Linked DNA regions of Homo sapiens: regions 1 and 2 are each linked to region 3. The links are contacts of gene promoters, found by promoter capture Hi-C in blood cells and fetal thymus (Javierre and others, 2016). All regions are on one chromosome and are shown on one strand. Each heading gives the region's core, a stretch centred on a gene start or on the middle of the fragment in contact. The rest is flanking DNA. Distances are from core to core; before and after follow the strand shown. Region 1 holds the start of CXCR2 (C-X-C motif chemokine receptor 2). Region 2 holds the start of CXCR1 (C-X-C motif chemokine receptor 1). Region 3 holds the start of PRKAG3 (protein kinase AMP-activated non-catalytic subunit gamma 3).

Region 1 (4,295 bases), core at 268-2,767, 710 kb before region 3:
ACCTCCCAGCTTCACTCCTTTCCCAGTGTTCCAGCTATTCAGATCAGACAGGCAGTTATTTTCATCTGTAGAAATGTTGATGTTCCAAGTAGAGAGGAATTGTGACTGCCTGTCATGCAAACCTGAATCTGGGGAGTGCTCCTCCCGTGGGGATGCAATCACCCTGATTTGTTCCAGGAAGGCTGTCTATAGGTGCATCAATGCTGCGTTCCTTTGGGAGAAGCCCCAGCTCTGTCTGCAGTGGCGTACCAGGGGGAACAAGGATCCCTTCTCTAAGACCCTTCACAATACCAGAGGCTGCCTGCCTATTGGGTAGAGGTGCAAACTTTCCCCCACTCTGCCCAGCACAGCAATTGTCTCTGCAATAGGAAACTTCCCACCAGTGAAAAGATCTGGGACTCAAGCCCTGCCATTCAGATTCTTTTGTTCCACAGGGTATTCCCTTGATGTGATGTTCTTCCCCTTCCTCTAGGAATGGGACTTCCTGGAAGCCAGACTACAGTGCTCTTCTGGGTCTAGCCACCCAGTGGGCCTACCAGACTCTGGGCTGGTGCTAGGGAATGTCTGCAAGGGATCCAGTGGTGTTACCTGTCTTCAAGACTCCCAGCAGTGAATACCAGCACCATCTCTGACAGAAGTGGGAGGGGAGTGATGCAAACTCTGCAAGATTCCTTGGTTGTAGATAGACTTAGAGTATTGACTTTCTCAAATGCTGGTTATAATTATAGTGAACTTATCACGTGGACAGACGCAGGACTTCTGGTTAGCCAGGGTGTTGTAAGCAGTGGTGATAGCTGAGAATATGCAGCCGTTTTCTCCTTCCTGGGTACAGTGCTATTCTGCCTAGAGGTGAGTTTTTGCCTGTCTCACAGAGTAGGCTGCAGCCTGCCACTTCTTTCAAAAGTTCTGTGGATTCTTTCAGCTTTCCTGTTCAGTTCCTGCATTCGTTCCTGGAGAAAAAAAAATTATAGTGTGAATCTCTACACGCTATTCTGTCCTTCCAGATGGGAGAGGCATGCTAATGCTGCCTCCAATCTGTTGTCTTGGGGGGAAAGAAAGCAATTTGTTTTTGTTTTTTTTTTTAATGGATTTGCTGGGTTTAGTAACCCAGAGGTCATTGGGAACCTTGGCGAAAGTTATTTCAGTGGAGCAGTAGGAAGGAAGCCAGTTGCAGTGTCTTTGTTGAGCAGCAGAGGGGAGGTGAGGAAGTGGAGAGAGCAGCTGTGGTGGCTGAAGGGTGCTAGGACAGAGGGAGCATGATAAAGCCATAAGTAAGATGTGGTAGAAGGGAAAGAGCCAGGACAGAGGGGAGAGAAAGCAGGATCCTCAAGGACCAGAGAGGCAGTGGGTCCCACAGTCAGGTGCGGGGATTCAACAGAAACAGAAGGAGGGACGCTTCTCACTCTGACCCCGGAAAGAAGGAAGAAACTGCGTGCGAGTTCAGACAAGTCCGTTGGCGGGGGCTGGGATGCCTGCATCTTCCTTGTTAAAAAAGGAAGTGCAGGTTCAAAACATTCAGAGACAGAAGGTGGATAGACAAATCTCCACCTTCAGACTGGTAGGCTCCTCCAGAAGCCATCAGACAGGAAGATGTGAAAATCCCCAGCACTCATCCCAGAATCACTAAGTGGCACCTGTCCTGGGCCAAAGTCCCAGGACAGACCTCATTGTTCCTCTGTGGGAATACCTCCCCAGGAGGGCATCCTGGATTTCCCCCTTGCAACCCAGGTCAGAAGTTTCATCGTCAAGGTTGTTTCATCTTTTTTTTCCTGTCTAACAGCTCTGACTACCACCCAACCTTGAGGCACAGTGAAGACATCGGTGGCCACTCCAATAACAGCAGGTAGGTGACTTGTTCAGTCTGAGATGCTGGCAACATATTTCTAATGGAAGAGATCTGGAAACTTCAGCCTCCTCTGAGGCCCCTGAGAACTGGGGTGATGAAGTGTAGAAGCTTAGAGCTAAAGACAACTAAGTCTTCACCTAGACAGTGTTGCACAAAAGAATTTTCTGCAATAATAGAAATGTCCTAGACCTGCCCTGCCCAGTATGGTAGCCACTAGTCACACGTGGCCACGGAGCACTTGAAATGTGACTAGTGTGACTGCGGATCTCAATTTTTATTTCATTTTATTTTATTTTATTTTTTCTTTTTTGAGACAGGCTCTCACTCCAATGCCCAGGCTGGAGTGCTGTGGCATGATCTTGGCTCATTGCAACCTCAACCTACAGGTCTAGGTGATTCTCCCACCTCAGCCTCCCAAGTAGCTGCAGCTACAGGCATGTGCCGCTACACTCAGCTAATTTTTTGGGTTTTGTTTGTTTGTTTGTTTTGTTTTTGTTTTTGTAAAGACAGGGTTTCGTCATGTTGCCCAGGCTGATCTCAAACTCCTGGGCTCAAGCGATCCGCCCACCTCGGCCTCCCAAAGTGCTGGGATTACAGGCATGGGCCACCTTGCCTGGCCTTTATTTTAATTAATTTTAATTTAAATAGCTACACATGGCTAGTAGCTAGCATGCTGAACAGAATAGAATTAGAAGAAGCTCCCGTTTTCCAAAGGCACACAACAAGGCCCAGAAAGAATGACTTCTCCAAGCAGGATTAGAAGCCAGGTTTTTGTTTTGTTTTTGTTTGAGACAGGGTTTTGCTCTGTCGCCCAGGCTGGAATGCAATGGCACAATCTCGGCTCACTGCAACTTCTGCCTCCCGAGTTCAAGCAATTCTTATGCCTCAGCCTCTGGAGTAGCTGGGATTACAGGCGTGCGCTGCCACGCCTGGCTAATTTTTGCATTTTTAATAGAGGCGGGGTTTCACCATGTTGGCCAGGCTGTTCTGTAACTCCTGGCCTCGAGTGATCCACTCACCTCAGCCTCCCAAAGTGCTGGGATTACAGGCATGAGCCACCGCACCAGAAGCCAGTTTTTTAATTCACTCCACCCTGCATATAACCGCAGTGATCTCCATGGAAATGAAATTGACCTAAGGAGCATGAAGAAGGAGGCTGACTGGGAAATGTCAAATCTGGGCTCCCCTCTCTACATCCTTTGTATCTGACTTTCTGGGACACAGGGAGGTACCTAATGGAGCTCAGAAACTTTAGGCTGGGATCCTGCTCCTTATTACAGTGAACAGGAGATAGGATTTGAGAGCAGATTTTTAGAAGTTTTTTAAACTGAAAACCTAGTTCAGCTGTGTCACTCTAGGTATGTTGCTTAACCTCTCAGAGTCTTCATTTCCTCTTCCAGAAAGTGCCTGCTTCGTGAGGTTATCCTGAGGATTAATTGATACAAATTCTGGAAAGCACTTTGCCCAGAAGCTAGAACCTGGTAGACACTCAACATTACAGCTAATATGACAATTAATATCCAGGTCAAAGTAAATTAGATGTCATCAAAGTCAGCCTTGAAAGCAGACCCACTGCCGACTGCTTTCCCTTGACTGGGGATGTAGTGAGAGAGGCAGCATGTTATCAGTGAATAAACTATTCCAGTAATAATGATCACAACAATAAAGGTTAACATTGTACTTTATGTATGTTTTACGTGATTTACAAGCAATCCCTCATTTCATCCTCACCACAACCCCATGAGTTGGATTCTGTATTGGCCCCATTTTACAGATGAGTAAACTGAGACTCAGAAAGGAAAAGTCACTTGCCCAGAATTGCTCAGCTAGCCCTGGTGTCATCTGCCTCTCTCCATATGTAATAAGCCTCTATCTGGTTTTAGCATCAACTGGCCAGGTGGCATTGCATTCTTCCCCAGCTTGGGAAAGAGAGGTGACAAAGACTAAGAAACATTTGCTGAACAGTTGGACTCAAAGATTCTTTCTTTGGGGTAGGCAGGCAATTTAAGTGCGTCTGCCACAGGGATTGAGTCCCCTCTGGGCCCTGGGATGCATGGAGCAAGAGATAGGGTAAGGAATAATGGAGGGGATTGAGGTGTTGTTCACTGGGGTGGGCACTTGTGAGACAGCAGAATTAGTGTTCATGGCTCTGCCTGGATTAATTCATTCATTTGTAATCAATAGCAAATTGATAAAATACATTCTTAGGGTCACTTAACATTGTTTTTAAAAATGCATTTGGACTTTGGTGGAATCTTCCCTTTTACCAAAAGGCTTTCTTTCCAAATTAGAGGGTCTTGGCTCCAAGGGTGGTAAGCTGCTGCAGAGTTGGTGTCCTCAGACCCAATGCCAAGTGTGCGAAACAAGAAAGAATATCAATACCCAGAGATGGACTTGTGGTCAGAGCAGATGGTTGGGGAGTGAGGGGAAAGACAAGAGGCAGGAGTGG
Region 2 (3,927 bases), core at 1,076-3,575, 660 kb before region 3:
CCCAGGACCTCATAGCAAACTGGACTGGAATTGTTTGGATGGTAAGCCTGGCGGAAAAGGAAGAAGGGCAGGGACAGATTCATAGACAGTCCCCAGCAGCCAAGACAAACAAACTTGACCAAGTGACGCTTCTGGGTCAGTGTGCGTGTGGCATGGACAATGGCCAGGTAACGGTCCACACTGATGCAGGCCAACAGCAGGATGCCACTGTAGAAGTTGACTTCCTTCAGGAGTGAGACCACCTTGCACAGGAATGTGCCAAAAATCCAGCCATTCACCTTGGAGGCGGCCCAGATGGGCAAGGTCAGGGCAAAGAGTAGGTCGGCCAAGGCCAGGTTCAGCAGGTAGACATCAGTGACGGAGCGGCCGACCCTGCTGTATAAGATGACCAGCATCACCAGGGAGTTTCCCAGCAGGCTCAGCAGGAACACTAGGGCATAGGCGATGATCACAACATACTTGTTGAGTGTCTCAGTTTCTAGCATACAGGGGCTGTAATCTTCATCTGCAGGTGGCATGCCAGTGAAATTTAGATCATCAAAATCCCACATCTGTGGATCTGTAATATTTGACATGTCCTCTTCAGTTTCAGCAATGGTTTGATCTAACTGGAAGGTTAGAAGGAAGGAAATGTGATTTAGTAGCTCGGATTCAAGGCATTCTCATCAATGATGTGAGAGCAGTTACTGGGATATCCTTGGCTTCCCTGTTGGTTTGGCAATGAGAGCTCTCCTTCCTCCTTTGACTCCAACCTGGTCTTCTTCGGAGGTTGGCTTCCCAGTGTTCTCCACCTTCCACAACTCTAAGGCCTGGCCTGAGTGTGGGGTAAGATGGAATATGGGGAAAACACCTTAGCCCTAGCTCAACCTACAACTGCCTCCTCTCAGCCTATGTCTCTACCTCTGTCCCTCTTTAGCCTTCTCCATCCTCAGCTGTGTCTGTGCATTTGGATGTGGGGACCAGGTTGGTCTTAGACATTCAGGGAAGGGCCAGCATTAAGCAAAATGCAAGAAGGCAAACCTGTTCCCAGGTGTCCCCTTCTACTATTTCTATTCCTATGTTCTCCCTGATTCTTGTTTACCCTCCTTAAAATCTACTGGGGGAAGGAAGTGATAACAACACATTGCATTAAACTGTATATTTTAAGCCTTCTTTAAATGAGGAGCACATATTTTGTTCCTCTGTCTAAAGGAGTTTTAAGTATTTGAGAAGATAAAGTCTCCATCTTGGTCCCTGAAACCCTCCACCCCTGAAAAAATCCACAGAATCATTCAAGAGTTTTCAAATATATTTCCTATTGTGAAATAGTTTACTGAAATAAGATCTTCCCAGAAGCCCAGTATGTGAAGCAGATAAAAGCTGAGCCACTGTGGGGCAGAGTGTGCTAATCTCCGAACCCAGATGGCCCCTAAAGAGCCCCTCAAAGCTCCAGGACTCTCCAGAGAAGTCTGAAAGCCTTTGGAAAGTCACCGAGGTTGGTTGTAAAGACACCTAGCATCCAGTCTTCATTCCATCCTGATTCTACCATTAATAAGTTTCGTGTGTAATCCCAGCCCTTTGGGAGGCCAAGGCAGGCAGATCATGAAGTCAGGAGTTCGAGACCAGCCTGACCAAAATGATGAAACCCCGTCTCTACTAAAAATACAAAAAAATTAGCTGGGTGTGGTGGCGTGCACCTGTAATCCCAACTACTCAGGAGGCTGAGGCAGGAGAATCACTTGAACCCGGGAAATGGAGGTTGCAGTGAGCCGAGATCGTGCCACAGTACTACAGCCTAGGCGACAGAGTGAGACTCCATCTCAAAATAAATAAATAAATAAATAAATAAGTCTCATGACCTTGAGTGGGGTCTCGTACCCCTATAGATTTCAGTCTTCTCATCTGCAAATCGAGGAAGACAGAATCATCCACCTCTCATTTGCTGCCAGGCCTGAGGGTGTATGATGAGTCCACTCAGATCCACACATTTTAGTGTGTTCCCTCCCTACCAGTATTTGCATTTTCACTGAAGACAAAGTCTTAAGGTGAAGCAATAAACATCAAATTGGGGAATGGTCAGCCTCTTCCCACAAAAGGGCAAGGTATAAAAAGAGGGGATGAGGAGGCTGTCCTCTTCACCTGCTAACTCCATGTATGAGTGGTGGTCACAAGAGAGGAAGCGGGCAGCAGAAATCCTCAGCTCCCACAGAAATGAATACATTTTCCAAAATAAAGTCAAGCCAAGCAGCCCTACCCCACAGAAAGTCCTAGCAAACAGAGGTGGCTTCCTACCTGAAGCACCGGCCAGGTGTGTCCAACAGTAGGAGCTGCAGTCAGAGATCAGAGTGACTTAACAGCTAGAGGGCACTTGATGAATAAACGGAAATAAGGAAACCACATCAGATGACACCTCCCTTCTGAGCCCCACCCATGTCTACATTTGGGGAAGAACAGTTTAAGTCAAGGGATCACAGACTTGTGATTAGAGACTGCCAGGGTCCATATGACCAAGTGGGGGTCCCAGGTGTGAAGCTGGGGTTGAGGGTCCATTATCTGAATTCTCCACTCTATGGATGATCATTTTTATTATTTTCCTTTTCTTGAATTTATTTCCATTTGTTTATTCCTAAATTCCCTAGTATATCACCTGTGGAAGCTTGCAACTTCCTGACCAAGTATAAAGGGCGAAGGATTTGACTTACAGCAGAGACTTCAGAAGGAGTCCCCCATAGGAGGGACTTGGGGGCAATCCAGTGGGAAAGAGGAGGAGGACTGCGCTTGAGTTGTGTTTGAACAGCAGGCACTCAATCTCTACTTATTTTGCAGGCTTCTTTGAGGTGGCCTAGCTCGGATTCAAGGCATTCTCATCAAGGATGTGAGAGCAGTTACTGGGATATCCTTGGCTTCCCTGTTGGTTTGCCAACGAGAGCTCCCCTTCCTCCTTTGCCTCCAACCTGGTCTTCTTTGGAGGTTGGCTTCCCAGTGTTCTCCACCTTCCACAACTCCAAGGCCTGGCCTCAATCTCTACTTATTTTTCAGGCTTTTTGAGGGTATTTGAATGGAACACAAACCCTCCTTTGCCGCCAGCCACTCTTTCGCACAATCACTGCCAATGACCAGTTGGTTTAAATGGCCCTGAGGCTGACGGCATAGGCCACTCCCAGAGTCTGGCTGGTTAGCAGAGAGACCACAGAGCTGGGGCAGTCCATGAATGGAAGAGCTGTGGTCAAGGTCACTGCAGCCCCCATCTCAGTAACGGAGAATGGCTTCTCTGGGAACCCACCTTAGCTGCCTCCAGCAGCTAATGGCTGTCCCCTAGCTTGAGTCTTCTGGCACCTTCGTCACTTCTCCATATAACATGAACCCTGCTGTGAGGCATTTACAAGTCAGCCCTCTTCTAGCTTGGGAGCCATGAGACAGCAAGAACCTTCTTCAATTCATGTTTATGTTCTCTTTCAGGGAATATAGTAGGTGCTCAATCAATGGTTGTGGAATAAATGAAGGGAGACATTTCTCCTGTGATTCATGGACCATAAGTCACCACCACGATTCAGTGTCTATTGCTTTTGGCTACACACTAAAGTCACTGGTATGCCTGATAGCTTCACTTCCACACAGCCCAGTTGGTCTGCCTGGCATTGCTTCTTTCCAACCTTCCTCTAATGTTTGGAGCTAATGCCAGTCTGTGCAAGTATAAATCCTGCCCTACCACAAATGCCAAATTTACCATGCCATGGATTCCTACAGTTCTGCACTGGAAAGAATTTTTTTCTTTTTTTAAGAGACAGGCTCTCACTGTGTTGCCAAGGCTAGAATGCAGTGGTGTGATCATAGCTCAGTGTAACCTCAAATGCCTGGGCTCAAGCAATCCTCCCACCTCAACCTCCTGAATAGCTGGGACTACAGGCAAGAGCCACTACATCTGGCTTTCTTTTTTTATATTATATT
Region 3 (4,140 bases), core at 661-3,160:
CAGGGCATCCTGCAGGGTGGGAGTGGCGGCTGCAGCACCGTGTGGATGGAGAGTGAGTACAGGTTGGGCAGAGCCGTGGCCTCACCTCCAGCATGGTGTCGAAGATGACTAGCTTGGAGCTAGTTGCCATGGCATCGTAGCAGGTGTGCTCCTGCATGAAGCGCATGTAGATCTGGGCGCCGGGTTTCCGCAGTTCGTCATCCCAGCCCAGCTTGGGAAATGGGGCCTGCGGGGACAGGCACAGGGCAGGCCTCTCTTCCAGCAGGCCTTCTAGCTCACACTCCCAGGCCTCTGTGGCTGGGAACTCCGTGGCCAGCTCCACATCATCTGTGCTGGAGCCTGCAGCTGAGGCTGTACAGTCAGAGGGGAGGCAGTCCCACCCTGTTGGTGGAGTGCCCACCCCGGCAGGATCAGCTTGAGCCAAGGGTGTGGTCTTGGGGAATGTGGCCTCCAGCCCGGTGGACTCAGCAGCTGGCCTGGACCGGGGACCTGTTTGGGGGAGGAGGGGAAGAGGACAGTAACTCCATCTTCCAAAGCACGTTCTCATCTGCTGTCGCCATTCATCTCACAGCAGCAGTGGGAAGCCTGGATGCTGTGGCCCTATTTGCAGGTGAGGGGCTGACCTGAGAGTCGCCCCAGGTAGTGGCTCTGTCCCATCTTTCTGAGTTGGCCATGCTGGCCTCTGGCACTGCAGTGCCTTGTTCTCTACTATGTAGGGAGACTGAGGCCACAAGATGAAGGTTGGGTCCAACTCTGTGTTATGGAGGGACCTGAGGTAGAGACCAGACCCAGGCTCCTCTGGGATTTCCCACTCCCCTGGCTCCCACCTCCCCAGAACTGGCCTTGGCCTCACCTTCCCCCTGACCTGGTGGCTCCCCTTCCTCCACCGACTTCTGCCTTGTCCATCTCAAGGCTTTGGCCCTCCGTTTCCCACGGATTCTTTCTGAGCTGCTGGTCACAGCTGGTGATGGCCATGAGCTGCTGTTTTCTTGCTCTAGGAAGCTCATCTCTGGAAGGGGAATGGGGCCTGTTTGGTTAATAGGGAGTAATGCATCAAAATCAATTCAAATGTTATTCATAATCTTTAGGATTTGCAAGCTTCCAATGGGCTTTTCTCCAACATATTTCTCATTTAAAACTTACAGCAGCCTTATAAAGCAGGCATTATTATCATCCCTATTTTGCTAGTGAGGGACCAGAAATTCAGAGAGGTTAAGCAATTTGCTGCAAATCACACAGCAAGTAAGTGGGAAAGTCACTTCTGAAAAGAGGAAATTGGAGGTGAGGGAAACACACCTGGGGAAAGGAGGAAGAACAATGAGGAAGAAAGACCAAAAGGAGGAAGATAAAAGCCAGGCTGGGAGGGAATTGGGGTCCCAGAAAAGTGGGGGACAAGGAGGTGGGGGAAGAGGTTAGGCCCCAGGGAGGGGGCATTCTCCCTACCTTGATGCTCAGAACCCCCAAGGCTGCTCCAGGAAGGGGTCTGTGGGGAGAAGAGTTTCTGAAGGAGTGGGGAAAGTGCCTTACATTCCCAAACCCCTTCTCCCTGAACACACGCCTACACACCCATGCACACCAATACACACGCTCAGACACACGCCATACACAGACATGCAGCCATACACAAACACACACAGAAACACACACATCCAAACACTCCCAGGCACACAGAACCACACACACTCACAATACATATGCCCAAACATGCACATGCCCATATTCACGAGAAAATCCAGACCAAACACACACCAGAAGACACACACGCCCACACACACATTCACAGCCCGTGCGCTCAATCTTCTGGCCTCAGCTGCCCCGGCTCCGGCTCCCCTGGGACCCCCATACCCTGCGCAGTGCGTGCTCCAGCCCGGGCTCCATGTGGCCAGCCCCAGACCAACTGAGAGCAAGTGTGCGACACTGTGGCTGGGCTGCACTATTCTGGGCCCGGCCCCGGGCACCCTGCCCTGCCAGGATCGGTTTCTCTCTGATTGGGTGTCAGGCAATGAGAGGGAGGGGCCCCCATTTGCTCAGCTGCTACAGCCCTGAAGGCTGGGGGTTGCTGGGAGGGAAGGGGCGCACCGGATAATCTGGGTACTTGGTCCTCAGCTGCCTCCTGGGTCACTGAGGACAAGCTAGAGGGACCCTTTTTGAGGGGATGTGGCTTGGAGCATGTGGGAACATGGTCATTGAGCAGAGTTGGGCTCTCAGAGTCCTGAGCCCCTATTCCAAGAGCCTCCCTCATCTTTATCAGGCACCAAAGAAGGGAACATGGAGGCAGATCAGCATAACTTTCTTCCTTGTTCTAATTTCAGTAGAGGGTGGTGCTGGAGTTAGAAAGGGCAAGTTGCAGCCAGCTCAGAGGCTGGAGATGAGGCAAGGGGTTTGTGGGTAGTCCAGGAGAGCAGCTAGTGTATGTCCAGATGTCCAGATTTGAGTCCCTGGAGTGTGTCCCTCTCTCAGGTGAAGGAGATGGAGTGGGTGTTTCAGGCAGGTGAAGAGCTGTGAGAATCACCTCGAAGGCGTGGGGAGCACTCAGAGCTCCCCGCAGGGGAAGAGACATCTGTTTCCACCTGTGGTTGGGAGATATGCCTGGGTGTGCAGGTGTCCCAGCCCCCAACCCTCTGTGAGTGCTGTGCCTACATCCCTGGTGCCAACAGGATCCCAGCCTGGCTCCAGTAGCTGCCACCCTCTTCCTTGGCATTCCCGGAGCCTGAGTCAATGTCCGGATTGGGAATGCTGACCCAGCTGCTCCGGCTTTCCTCTCTCTGCCCCTCCCTTTCTCTCCTCCTTCCAGCCTCTTCCATCCCAGCCCTGGCCCTGGAGTGGACACTCAACAACAGACTGGTGAATTTCTGTCTGAGTTTATTACATGTGTTTTCCATCAACCCTCAATGTTCCTACTCTGCCAATGGGGAGGGTGGAGGAGAATGGAGTTGGGAGGACAGCCTTGGCCAGGGCTGTTCCTGTGGTCCCCAGCCTTTCTCAAGGACATCTGCTCACTGGACAGTGGGAACTGGCTCAGAGGACAGAGATCAGTGTAAGAGAATTTCCTTCACACCAAGCATGTTTTTTCAAATGGACTCAAGATAGCCACCACCAGTTTGAGAGAAAGGAGAGTAGGAAGAACACCAAGTCCAGAGTGTTCAAGCATAAAAATAAGGTCTACATGAGGCCATTGGCTGTGGTTACTCAAACATGGAGCCACTCAGAAGGCTTCTAAGATTGTGAGGGTGTTGTATTGGCAAAGAAACCATAAGCCTGATCAGCAAAGCCTGGTTTGACACCCCTTCCCTTGCCTTATTCCCAGCCCTCCAAATCCGCACCAGCAGGAAGAGGGCTGTGAAGGCTGGAAGGACTGCAGAAAGCACAAGTTTGCCAGTGTGGGACAAAGGATATTGGATAAACAACAGCTTCCCAGCAGGAAAAGCCAGAGGCTACATAGGAGAGTGGAAAGGGGAGATCTTCCCAGAGAGCAGAACCAGGGGTGGTCAAATGTGCTGACCAAGAACTTACTCCACTGCCAGGAAAGGGCTTAGCCATTCCTGCCCAACCAGATTTGATAATTAAGATCCAGCAGCTGCTGGGTGTTTGCCATTCTTTCAGTTGCAAGTGGATTTTTTTTTTTGAGACAGTGTCTCACTATGTTGTCCACGCTAGTCTCAAACTCCTGGGCTCAATGATCCTCCTATCTCAGTAGCTGGGACTATAGGCGCGTAGCAGTGTGCTCAGCATGAGTCAGTGTTTTAATTGAGCTTACCCTCTTCTTCCTCCACTGTTGTCTGTGGGGAGTAGGAGGTGCAAATCACCTGCCTGTTAGTTTTTAGGTCACCAGACCATAGGGTGTCCATCTACCTGGAAGAAGGAACTGCCCACCCCTCAGATAGCCTGGACTCTCAGCTGGGTGCCGTACTCAGATGGAACTCTGACTTGCCTCCTTTTGAAGGGCAGTAACTGTGTTTTTTGTGTGGGATGGCCAGATGGGTGAGCTCTAGTAGAGCAATATCTCTTCTACCCTTCTTCTGCTGTTAGTAAACCACTACAATTTTAACTGAATGCAAGATTATATTTCACAGCTTCTTTTGCAGATAGTATGGCCATATGACTAAGTTTGACCATGAAATTTGAGCAGCAATGTTATAT

Evidence for each region. The method cuts DNA at HindIII sites, captures the fragments that hold promoters and counts their contacts. A CHiCAGO score of 5 or more calls a contact.
Region 1: a contact is called between the fragment with the promoter of CXCR2 here and the fragment with the promoter of PRKAG3 in region 3, in 2 of 17 cell types (non-activated CD4 T cells and erythroblasts). The highest score is 7.5, in non-activated CD4 T cells.
Region 2: a contact is called between the fragment with the promoter of CXCR1 here and the fragment with the promoter of PRKAG3 in region 3, in 3 of 17 cell types (erythroblasts, naive B cells and total B cells). The highest score is 8.7, in erythroblasts.

What each region holds. Positions count from the first base shown.
Region 1 is chr2:218,124,511-218,128,805 of GRCh38, forward strand. CXCR2 (C-X-C motif chemokine receptor 2) reads left to right here and starts at 1,518. Exons shown (of 3, transcript NM_001557.4): 1 at 1,518-1,843. The HindIII fragment of the contact is 2,247 bases long and covers 1-1,952 here.
Region 2 is chr2:218,164,637-218,168,563 of GRCh38, forward strand. CXCR1 (C-X-C motif chemokine receptor 1) reads right to left here and starts at 2,326. Exons shown (of 2, transcript NM_000634.3): 1 at 2,272-2,326; 2 at 1-608. The coding sequence starts at 575. The HindIII fragment of the contact is 3,933 bases long and covers 1-2,633 here.
Region 3 is chr2:218,829,893-218,834,032 of GRCh38, forward strand. PRKAG3 (protein kinase AMP-activated non-catalytic subunit gamma 3) reads right to left here and starts at 1,911. Exons shown (of 14, transcript NM_017431.4): 1 at 1,846-1,911; 2 at 1,444-1,483; 3 at 854-1,009; 4 at 86-489. The coding sequence starts at 1,878. The HindIII fragment of the contact is 3,600 bases long and covers 1,097-4,140 here.